Regions from separate parts of the Homo sapiens genome. Here region 2 is linked to region 1. The links are contacts of gene promoters, found by promoter capture Hi-C in human tissues and cell types (Jung and others, 2019). All regions are on one chromosome and are shown on one strand. The core of a region is centred on a gene start or on the middle of the fragment in contact, and the rest is flanking DNA. Distances in the headings are between cores, read along the strand shown. Region 1 holds the start of TRIM11 (tripartite motif containing 11). Region 2 has its middle 20 kb from the start of PRSS38.

Region 1 (5,553 bases), core at 80-2,579:
GCAGAAGGTGTGGGCCTTCTGCTTACTGCAGGCCACCTGCCAGGGTTCTCTGGCATCACGCTGGCAGCCATTAGACACACAGGGGGGTTTCTCAAATTCTAAATATAATTGTGATTAGAACTGTCAAACATTAAGAGGGTATACTGACAGATGCTTCCTAGAGGAAACTTTTGAAAGCCCCTGCGTTCTGAGTGGACCGATTTCTAAATCCATACCTACACACCAGGAACAGCGTGGTCACGTTTTTTTTAGCCATGCCCCCACCCCCACTTTGGAATGACAGGAATCTGTGGCTCCCAGCCCCCCCAGGGGTTTAGGTTACTCTGTCAAAGAAGTAGAAATATCCTATGGTGGGGAGGAGCGGGGGTGGTTGCTGTGTCAGGGATGGTCCCAGGCTGCCCATAGAAATGTCCTATGCATCCTATTGGGTCCTTCGATGGGGGAAAATGGGAAAGGCTGAACCCGTAAAAAGCCTCAGAGCTGCCCACCCCCATCCCGTTCGATCCCCAAAGTTGCACGAGCAGGGGCAAAATCCCAAAGAGATTAGGATTTATGTAGGGGCCTCTTTTCCACAGCGCCCTTACCTTTTCCAAGGAACCCCCCACCCACCCCTGCAGGGTCAAGCACTTTAACAGCCTGTGTCAGTCACTAGCAAGGCAGAATTCCAGAGTAAGCGTACTCCTACCTCGACAAAGCCGGAGTGTCTGCGCGAGGGGCTGCCTGGAACAGCATGCCCCTTTGGAGTGGTTCCCGCAGAAAGAATGTGGGCCTCCTGGAGAGCTGGTCCTGGAGGGATGCCCCCGTCCCATCCCCCAACTCCAATCATTCTGACCTTGGCCTGCCAAGGCTGTGAGGGCCGGGCCTTCCGAGGATACCCGCCCTGGGAAGCACGGGCTGAGGGGGTGAGGACGCACTAGGGGTATGGCGAAGGGCTCCAATGCCCCAGGCTGCGGACTCCCTTAGTCCTTGCAGTTGCTTCCGTGTGCCCCGCCCTGAGTCCCCATCCCTCCTTGCCCTGCCCCCTGCTCCATCCCTCCCCTGCGCCCCGCCCCCTGTCCCCATCCCTCCCCTGCGCCCCGCCCCCTGTCCCCATCCCTCCCCTGCGCCTGAGTCCTCCCCAGGGCAGGGGTAAAAGACCTGGCCACAAGAACCGGAGCGGTGGTGACGCCAGGTCAGCAAGTGAAAGCTCTCCAATTCCGTCCCGCCCGCGGGCCGCGTGACTGGCAGCGGCCAATCGGAGGCAAAAGCGGGTTGTTCCAAAAAAAAAAAAAAAAAAAAAAAAAAAAAAAAAAAAACACACAAAACCCACCCAGTCGCTTCCTGCTTCCGCCTCGGCTCCTCTTCCTGCCGGCATCCGGGATCCCTACGTCCCGCGTCCCCCGAGCGCTCGGAGCCTACGCGCCCAGCGCTACCGAAACCCAGAGTCCTGCGCCCTGGAGTCCCCGCGCCCCGGAGCCCGAGCACCCGGGAGTCCCGAGCCTCGCGCCCCGGAGTGCCCGAGCCTGCGCCGCCGCACCCGGATACCCCGCGTCCCCGCGAGCTGCCGAGGCCGCCCGCCGCCGCCCCGCGGACAGTACCGCCTTCCTCCCCTCTGTCCGCGCCATGGCCGCCCCCGACCTGTCCACCAACCTCCAGGAGGAGGCCACCTGCGCCATCTGCCTCGACTACTTCACGGATCCGGTGATGACCGACTGCGGCCACAACTTCTGCCGCGAGTGCATCCGGCGCTGCTGGGGCCAGCCCGAGGGCCCGTACGCGTGCCCCGAGTGCCGCGAGCTGTCCCCGCAGAGGAACCTGCGGCCCAACCGCCCGCTTGCTAAGATGGCCGAGATGGCGCGGCGCCTGCACCCGCCGTCGCCGGTCCCGCAGGGCGTGTGCCCCGCGCACCGCGAGCCACTGGCCGCCTTCTGTGGCGACGAGCTGCGCCTCCTGTGTGCGGCCTGCGAGCGCTCTGGGGAGCACTGGGCGCACCGCGTGCGGCCGCTGCAGGACGCGGCCGAAGACCTCAAGGTGCTCCTGGGCGGGGGTGGCGTGCAGGGGCGTCGGGGAGCCGGGGACTGGGGAGGCCTGGGCGGGTGGGAGGTTTGGGGGACTGCTCCGGGAGTAATCTGTCTCTGTCTAGGGCGGGGAGCTCAGGATGCAGCCTGCTGTGGGCCTGTGAGGGGGGTGTCGCGCAGGGTGGCTGTGGGGGCTCATGACACAGCCTGTTTCAACCAGGCCCCTTGAGGCTGGGACCATGGCCGCCAATGAGACCCTGCTCTCGGGGGTGAGGGGCGTACCTCTCATAGATAGAGGCTAAGAGAGGAAGGTGGAAGGTGGAAGGTGGTGGAGTGGGGGCAAGGAAAATGTGGCCATACCCTGGCCAGCAAGGAGCTGGAATCAGAGGAAAGTGGGAGAACCTCAGAGGTGGCCGATCCTAGATGGACTCCCTGCAGGGACTGTGTTAGCAGGTCAGTACTTAAGTCCTGGGAAAGCCCCAGACTGGGCAGGATGAGGGGGACACAGTCGTTTCCTCTCTAACCTCCCCTCCAGGGCTGCCCTGCATTTCTGGGTGGGGTACTGGGAGCCATCTCTGCCATCTGAGATGCCAGGGCTCAGCCTGCCTTTTCTCCCCTTGTCTTGCTGCTTAAAACCCAAATAAAACCCGAGCTGAAGGGCCTGGGGCACACGTTCCCTGGCCTGCGCTCCCTCCCGCTGTCCTCTTTCCTCGCTGACCTGCTGCAGGTGTGCTCCTGGGAGCCTACGTGTGGGGCAGATGGCAGCATCTTTGGAGCTTTCTTGATTGCACTTTGTGTGTTGCATCATGGTCACTTGTGTGTGCCAGATGAGCAGTTAAGGCAGTGTTAGAATCAGTACTGAGCTTGATCTGTCCCTATCACAGAGCAAACTTCTGGGATACTAGAATAAATCTGAATCTGTCCCCTTCTGCTTTGGATTTTAGCAGAAAGGTGGTTTAGAGCCATATCCGTGGGCTTGTTCAGACACAGATTCATTTGGGTTTTCTTTTCTTTGCCCATGCAGGAATGTCTACACCTGAAACATGTTAGCCCAGCAGAATTACCCTTGTGACACCAATTACCCCAATGGGTGCAGAGAGTGCCCAATAGCTCTATAGAGTTGACTCGATATAGTTTCATGGGATAGCACTTAACCCTTTCTTTTGCAGGTGAAGAAAAAAATTTCCCTCTACCCTGTTAGGTTCAGTGGCTCAGGGCTGCAAATTAAACTGGCACAAGACAAATTAACAGGAAAAAAAATCATACAATTTGATTAATATTTTAAGTTTCACATGCACAAGAACTTCATAGAAAAGCGTATTTCAGCAAAGGTTTGTGAATTGTGGAGAAGTGACTGGACACAGAAATGGGATTGGGCGTCTAGGACTGATAAATTGTGGGAAAGTGACTAGGAAATAGATGGGAAGAATTAACACAAGATAATGGTCATTGTAGTAAGGTCTGTTTAGGCAGAATCATCTCCCAGGATTAGAGTGCCCTCCTCTTCCTGGTAGAGAGAGGGTGCCTTTCTCATGGGGAATGAATACCCTACTTTTAGGCAGATAGGAGTACAGAGAGCTCTTCCTGCATCTGCTTTTACTCAGAATAATTCTTGTACCACAGCGGTATATTTGGGGATGACATCCTGTTCTTCACTGCCTTAGAGCCTAGGTTATGTTAACCACAGCAAACTGCTTTTACCTGCCCCCATGGGCCTAGAAAGCTCAGTCCCACCTATGGGGCTGTGTGTCCACTTGCCAGAGCTGGGGCCCATTAGCTCCATGACAGGTTCACTCCTTGCCTGGCCCTGACCTGGGGTCATGACAGCTGAACAAGCCCCAGGCTGGGTTGCCCCGAGGTGGTAAACAGGGAAGTCCCAGTAAGCTCCAGTTCCAGGAAGCAGCACCATGGGAGAGAGAAGATGGCCCCCAGATCTCTCTGGGTTGTGTGTCAGATGGCACTTGTGTGGGGAGGGGGTTTGCCACAGGAAGGAGGAGGCCAGGGAAGATCCCAGGCCTGCACCAAGCCCCAGCATCCCAGTTCTGACTACACGCAGGGTAAGAGGTTTCTGTTCTGATCTGGCCAGAGACACAAAGATGCAGGTACCTGAAATGCAAGATCTTTGCCATGCTGGGTATGTTGTGCTGCTTTACAGCCCATTCCATCTGATCAAATGCTGTTTGTAACCTTAGTGTTGAAAACTGAAAACGTTGGCCAGGTGTGGTGGCTCACGCCTGTAATCCCAGCAATTTGGGAGGCCGAGGTGGGCGGATCACCTGAGGTCAGGAGTTTGAGACCACCCTGGCCAACATGGTGAAATCCCATCTGTACAAAAAATACAAAAATTAGCTGGGTGTGGTGATGGGCACCTGTAATCCCAGCTACTCAGGGGGCTGAGGCAGAAGAATCACTTGAACACAGGAGGCAGAGGTTGCAGTGAGCCGAGATCGTGCCACTGCACTCCAGCTTGGGGGACAAAGCGAGACTCCGTCTCAAAAAAAGAAAACTGAAAATGTCCCGTAGGGACTGAGGCATTGAGGGAGAAGTGAGAGGCACTGGGCCAAGTGTTTGAGGTGGGGTTGGGGTCACAGGGGCCAGGCCTGAGTTTTCTGGAACAGGTCGGCAGCAGTGAGGAGAGAGGCCTGGGGACAGGGACCGCCATTTGGGGTTCTTGTAGCTCACGTGAGAGCTGAGCCTAGGCAGAGACAGTAAAGCAGTTGGACATGTCCTTGGTGCTCCAGCGGTCTTCCCGAATCGTGAGGCCAAGTGGTGAACTAAAGTGAGCACCTGGAGCCAGGCAGCTGGGCTGAAGTCCTGGCTCTGCTACCGGGGCAGACTTCTGGACCCTCCCAGCACCTCCATCCTTCCAGAGCGTGGATAGCGAGAGATGAGAGCCAAGACTTGGGGTGGCTGAGAAGCAAAGAGGTGTGGCCAGCACAGGGCCCGTTGCTGATAAGGGTGTCAGATGGGGTGGAAGTGAGCAGACCCTTCGAGAAGTGGGTTCAGGGCACCCCAAGCACACACAGTACAGTGAGCTTGTGTACAGGATTTTCACTGCTTCCTGGTATGCACAGCATGAGGAACCGTGGGAATGAGAATTAAGGACCAAGAAAGCAGAATGGAGGTGTACCCATCCTGGAGCTTATTACAGTGATAGCTGATGAAGCTGAAAATGCACAAGGTCCCGAGTGGCTTGGAGAAAAGATAGGGTGGGTAGCCAGGCATGTCTGTCCGTGCTGACTGTCCTACCAAAACACCATGGTTTGCACATGGCAGATGTATACAAGCTGGAGACTCACAGCTCTGGAGGCTGGAAGTCTAAGATCAAGCCCTGGCAGGTTTGGTGTCTGGTGAGGGTGCTTCCTGGTTCACAGACAACACCCTCTCACTGTGTTGTCATATGGTGAAAGGGGCGAGGGTTCCTTTATAACACTAATCCCATTGTGGCGGCACTGCCCTCCTGACCTAGTCACCTCCCAAAGCCCCCGCCTCCTAACATCATCACACTGGGTGTTGGGATTTCAACCTATGAATTTGTGGGGGCATAGGGCAGAAT
Region 2 (6,245 bases), core at 1,407-3,906, 610 kb after region 1:
AGGTCCTCATCTTGACAATGGCCACGTCATCTCCAGAGTCTTCCAGAGAGTTTGGTGCAAGCCACCTGCTTTTGTCTGTAATCTTTGAAGACCTGGTGCAATCTCCCGTGGTGTGGTGTCTACCTGGATTCAGCAAAATTCGCCCAGCTGGACCTGCAGCAGATGCCACGTGTTGGGCGTCTTCCACATGATCAGCAGGCACACGGCAAGAAAGCTGCCTACACGGACCCCACACGGTGTTAGGACAGATGCCTTGTGATCTCTATGTCTCGTGTGACCCTCTATCACACAAACTGGCTTTAATCTCAGAATCTGGGGTCAGGGAGAGTCACACAGCCTTCACGTTAGAAGTGAATGGGATCCACAGAGCCTACTGCCAGAAACGGAAGACACCCTGCTGTCCAGGTGCACAGCTGCCCAGCAAGGCCCCACTCAGAGGCACGAAGCTCCTGTGGCATCTTAGATGCCTCCCAAGCTTCAAAGCGGGACAGGCCTAGAGCATCACGCATGGCTCCACTGAAGCCAGAGCTCCCAGGACCCAGGTCCCTCTGAGGGATGGCCCAGAGAGAAAGCAACGCAGCCACATGGCCCTGGTCCCACTACAGTGATCACAGAGGTCCAAAAGGGGCATTTCTCTTCTCTTTGTGTCTTCATGTTCCATCTAGTGAATATGTCATCCTCATTCCTTTGGATTTTGTTAGCGATTACAAGAATCCAGTTGCGTTGGGTCACATAAATTGCTAAGGAATCTGGATCACGGTCACCTTCTGGATCTGTTGGGTGCTGTAGTCTGGCTGTTCCCCTTATGCCACTGGCCAGGTAATTAGACTCAAATATGTGGGTGAATTTACTGCCTCCCTTCTGCCTCCTGCTTTTTTTTTTTTTTTTTTTTTTTTTTGAGACAGGGTCTTGTTCTGTCACCCGGGCTGGAGTGCAGTGGTGTGATCACATCTCACTGCATCCTCCCACTCCCAGGTTCAAGCCATCCTCCCACCTCACCTCCCAAAGCAATGTGACTACAGGAATGGGCCACTATACCCGGCCCACATTTACCCTTTTAATTGATTTGTTTTCTACTGCCTTTTTGAATCACATACTTTGAAATGCATACATTCTTTGGGTACAGTTTAATGATATTCTACAAATTTACTCACGCCTGTGTTTATCTCCCCAGCAAAGACACAGAATGTTTTCATCTCCTTGGAAATTTCCTACAGTCATCTGTGATTTTGTGCCTACCCCTACCCTCACAGGGACATCTGCTTCTTTCTTGTGGGTGGGTGAGGAGGCTTCTGTGTAAACTTACCTGGGCAGGTGAGCATTCAGGAGCAAAGCGGCCCCAGTCCTGTAGCAGGGCCATTGCCCCACAGACCCTGCCATTATCCAGGCCAGCTGGAGCTGCAGGTGGTCCCTGAGCCATCACCGCACCCACCTTCCTCCTGTGTCCTCTTTCCCTCGAGGCTCTCACAGCCCCCACCTGTGTGGAAGAGTGGAGTGGGGTCAGTGGTCCTGGGGCCCCCAGGCCACAGCAGCTACTTGGGCTGCCCAGGGCTTCCTGTCTGTGGATGGAGGATGCTGGAGAAGTGAGGCTGTGGTCCTGGCACCACCCCTGCTGTGTCTGGAGCCACCTGACCCATCCTGGGTGTCTGCTGGCCACTCACCATATGCCACCCCATTTTCAGCTGGGCAGAAAGAAGCTTGTAAGGCCATCACAGACAGAGAAACTGAGGCAGAGGAGAGGCTGGTCTGAGCTGGGACAGCCTGAAGCCCGGATGCTCGACAGAGCCAAGGGGGAATGGGGGCTGCAGCAGGCCAGGCCTCGAGGTGGGGTGAGAAGGTACATTCCCAACCCCAGGAGGGTGAGGTGGGGGCAGCTGCATGCTGGAGGGTTTCATGGTCCCTTTGGAGGAAGGATTATGGGAGGTGCTCCTGGATCTCTCTTGGGATGATGGGGTTTGCTACAGAGACAGCCTGGGCTAGGCCCCCTGGTCACTGAGCACAGTTCCAGACTTTTTGAGTTAGGTGCACCTGACACCTCCACCCAGCCCCTTACATAGAACATGCTTCGTCAGGCCTACCACCAGCCCATACCACCAGCCACCCCTGGGGTCGTCCAAGCACTCCTCAGGGACCCACCTCCTCCTGCTCTGCAGCCCATCAGGGCTCCCCGTTGACAGATGAGGCTGGAGAGGGCTGTGTCCAGGAGGGGATGGGACTGTGGGTGGGGCCGGCAGTAGGCCCAAGGGGAGTTTGGGCAGCTGCTGTGAGTAACCAGCCCACCATGCGCCATGCAGGGCACATTGCAGGTACATGGCAGGGGGTTCCAGAGAGGGCCTGGGGGTGCAGGGAGTTCTAGAGTGGGCCTGGGGGTTAGCAGGGAGTTCTAGATCAGGCCCTGTGGGTGACAGTGGCTTCTGTTTGGAAGGACTTTGAGAGAGGAATGGGAATGTTGAGGGGTTTGTCCACCCAACTCTGCAGTCCCGTGGCAACTGTGCCCTGTATGTGAGACCACTGATAAACCCCTGCATTGGATGGGTGGATGGTGTATGGATAGGATGTGAGGGGCTTTGGTATTTGACCTCTAGGCCAGAATACCTGTCCCTGAGCTGTGCAGGCTCCGAGAGCCCAGAATGTCTTACCAGTCACTGGCCTCCCTCAGGATGGGCTAGAAGCTCTAAAGGCCACACAGTGCCCACAGTCCAAATCCCAGCAGAGCTGAGTCCCCGTGTCCAGCTGAGATACGATCCCTGGGAAGCAGCTCTGCTCCTACACCAGGGGCCCTGCTGAGGCGCTGGAGCTCATGTTCCTGTGTGCAAGGAGCTCCCAGAGTGTCCCCAGGTCCCAGGCCACCAAGGCCCCCCCTCAGACCAGAGCCCCAGGTCTGCTCTGCACCAGAGGCCAGGAAGGGGTAGGGGAGCTCCTGAGGAAGGAGGGGGTTGGGGGAGCTCCCGAGGGAAGGAGGGGGTTGGGGGAGCTCCCGTGGGAATGAGGGAGTGGGGGGAGCTCCCGTGGGAAGGAGGGGGTGGTGGAGGGAGCTCCCGTGGGAATGAGGGAGTGGGGGGAGCTCCCGTGGGAAGGATGGGGTGGTGGAGGGAGCTCCCGAGGGAAGGAAGGAGGTTGGGGGAGCTCCCATGGGAAGGAGGGGGTGGGGGCAGCTCCCGTGGGAAGGAGGGGGTTGGGGGAGCTCCCGTGGGAAGGAGTGGGTGGGGGGAGCTCCCGTGGGAAGAAGGGGGTGGTGGAGGGAGCTCACGAGGGAAGGAGGAGGTTGGGGGAGCTCCCGTGGGAAGGAGGGGGTTGGGGGAGCTCCCCTGGAAGGAGGGTGTTGGGGGGAGCTCCCGTGGGAAGGAGAGGGTGGGGGGAGCTCCCGTGGGAAGGAGGGGGTTGGGGGAGCTCCTGTGGGAACGAGGGGGTGGTGGAGGGAGCTCCTGAGGGAAGGAGGAACTAGTGTGGGGAGCTCCTGAGGGAAGGAGGGGGTGGGGGGCACCTCCTGAGGGAAGCCGGGGGTGGTGGGGGGAGCTCCTGAGGGAAGGCGGGGCTGGGGGGGCGGCTCCTGTGGGAAGGAGGGGTTGGGGGCACCTCCTGAGGGAAAGAGGAGTTCAGGAGGTCGTGGGAGGACACCTGCCGGGGCCCTGGCGAGGCTGCGGTGCCTGTGCTGCCCGCTGGCTTGGAAGGCAGCCTGGTCTATCGAGAAGGGACCTGCCCTGGGGCCCAGCCCCGCCTGTGTGTTGCTGCCCCTCCCCACAGCTGGGCCTGTCCCAAGGTGTCTTCCTCCAACCCTCTTTGCCCCTCATAGGAGAACAGCAGTGTGAGGCGCGGTGTGAGGCTGCTGGGTGGCCTGGAGGATCCCTGCCTAGAGAAGCCCCTGGGGTCTGGAGCGCAGGTGTCTGAGCACACTGCTTCCTTTGGCGCTGGGCCCTGCAGCTCCTGCCCCAATGCCTGACCTTCCCAGCTACCCTCTGTGTCCTGCCAGGGACCCTCCTGCCAGGGCCACACCACCCCTCAGCCCTGAGCCAGCCACAGTGCCCCTCTCACCCTCTGTGATCCCCCAGTCCAGGGCCCAGCCTCTCTGTAAGTCTCAGCCAAAGTGGAACTGATCTCTGTCTCCTCCCCAGCACCCAGTGGGCCCACCCACCTCGGCTCCCTGACTGGAGGCCAGCCTGACTTCCAGCTCCTGCAGAGCCGTGGCCGCCCACGGCATTGGTCCTGTGCCCAAGCTGGTGTGGTGGAATTTGGCCCAGCAGCCCAGACATGGCTAGATCCTCCCTCTGCAATGGCTGGGGTGCCGGGGGGCTCCCAGTATGAAATTCCCTTCGCCACAGCTGTCATGTTCCTGGGACGGCCCTCTGGAGCTGGCCTGAGGAGCATCCCAGTGGGCGATGCCCCTGCCCCCTGCTGCCAAGAGGCACAGAACCAGCTCTGATGGCACTGGGTGCTGGGGAAGCTGGGGCAGCCAGCTTCTCTCAGGGCAGGGCCCTGTGTGGCTGGACAGGGGTGTGCTGCAGCTCCACACCCCAGGCCTCAGTTTCTCCCACCGTAAGAGCTTCCTGGGGATTTCCTGGGAGCCAGGAGGGAGTGCAGGGCCCTGCTCTCCCCGCAGGCACATCCCCCACTGCCCCAGCCAGCACAGCTGGTCCTGATTAGAGTAGGGCCCAGCTCCCCTCCTGAAATGAGCAAGTCAGGCAGGGGAGGAAACCTGATCCCAGTCCCTCATCCCACATTCCAGCCCAGCAGCCGCAGGCAGCATGGCTCCTGACTTCTCTTGGCCCCAGAGGGCTGGGGGGACTCCTGGGAAGTGCGGCTGGGATGTGGCTTCCAGCAGGAGACCTGTTTGGAGAGAGGTCTCCTCCCATGGCCTGGCTTCCCAGGGATGCTGGCTTTTGGCTCAGGCCTCCTCGGAAGGCATGAGGGCTGCCTGTCTTCCTCCCAGGGCCAAGTACTGGCTGATCCCAGCACAGTAGGCTCCGAGCTCTGGGGCATTTGAGAAGATAGCCCCTCAGGCCACCTCCCATCCCCTAGCACCACAGGGCCTGCCAAGCAAAATGGAAGGGCAGAAGTCCCCAGGACCCTGGGGCAGCCCAGCCCTGACTTGAGCGGCCCCAGCTTTGCTCTCCCAATCCCTCTTCCGTGCAGCTGGCTGGAGGCTGGGCTGCCCTGGCCCAGCATCGGGAGAGCAGTGGGTGGCACACTCGGTCACTTGTGCAGGAGGTCATGCTGGAGTGACCAGGACTTCCCAGGACCCTTTGAGGGGCCCAGGCCCTGATTCCCAGCCTCCTTGGAAGAGGCTCCTGCTGGTGTGGGATCTACCTTGGGAAGTTTATGGGACCCTGCACCCCCGTGAGCACAGGCCCCTGGGGCAGGGAGACAGCCCCATGCAGGGGGATCACCCACATCAGGCTGTGCCTCTGTCTCCAGCAGAGCATTTGCCATGGGTTGGGGTGAGCTGTGCCTGCCAGAGATGCCACAGAGGCCCTTGACCCCTGCGAGGCCTGGCACAGCCCTGAGGTGGAGGGCTTCGGCTCCCAGACCCATGCTCTGGAGCAGAGGCCCCTGGAGCACCTATGATCGGCTAAGGCCCTGGCTTAGGAGCCTGTGGTCAACCCCTGGGGCCTGTGTGTCCCTGAGTTGCCTCCAGCTGGGGCAGCAACCCAGGATCCCCTCCCCAGGCTAGGTTTCTGTGGCCTGAGGTTGGCTGGGCAGCTTGAAGGCTCTGGGCTTCCCCAGACACAGCCAGCAGACACCCAGCCTCAGCTGCGGGGTCCGTGTGGCTCTCAGCATTCACAGTGGGAGAGGTCGAGGACACAGCCCTGAGAGTCTCCAGAGCCCCGCTCAGACCCTCGGCCCTGCCCCTCCACCAGATGCTGGACACTCACGCACAAGGGCCTGAGCAGCAGCAGCTCCCTCTGCTGGGCCGCTGACATCCCCACTGCACAGATGGGGAAATGGAGGCCTGTGGAGGGAGAGACATGCCAAAGAGCACGTGGTGCCCCAGCCTGGACAGGCCTCTGGGCCACGAAGCCTTCCTCTGTCCTGACACAGGGAGGAGATTGGACACGGTGTGTGTTGGGGGGTTTCCAAATGCGAACCCTGCCCCTCCTCAAAGTACCCGCTGTGATCCCCACATCACATTTGGCCCCGAGAGGACAGCCTCTGACAGCCCAGACACTGAAGATTACAAAGCATGGAGATCTGGGGCACTGGAGCCTGGCTGCAGGGTAGGCACCACAGGACCTCTGAGGCCTCTGGAG

What was found. The method cuts DNA at HindIII sites, captures the fragments that hold promoters and counts their contacts. A contact is called where the count stands out against the background at its distance.
Region 2: a contact is called between a fragment that was not itself captured here and the fragment with the promoter of TRIM11 in region 1, in 1 of the 25 tissues and cell types used here (spleen).

The regions. Positions count from the first base shown.
Region 1 is chr1:228,402,611-228,408,163 of GRCh38, reverse strand. TRIM11 (tripartite motif containing 11) reads left to right here and starts at 1,329. Exons shown (of 6, transcript NM_145214.3): 1 at 1,329-2,010. The coding sequence starts at 1,603. TRIM17 (tripartite motif containing 17) reads left to right here. Exons shown (of 7, transcript NM_016102.4): 7 at 1-229. RefSeq lists enhancers at 1-426, 618-667 and silencers at 1,018-1,087, 1,228-1,317, 1,378-1,617. The HindIII fragment of the contact is 21,686 bases long and covers 1-5,553 here.
Region 2 is chr1:227,792,522-227,798,766 of GRCh38, reverse strand. No RefSeq gene overlaps it. Among named protein-coding and RNA genes, the nearest start is that of PRSS38, 20 kb to the left of the region's middle. RefSeq lists silencers at 2,633-2,833, 4,476-4,644 and enhancers at 4,248-4,911, 5,576-6,239. The HindIII fragment of the contact is 3,139 bases long and covers 1,087-4,225 here.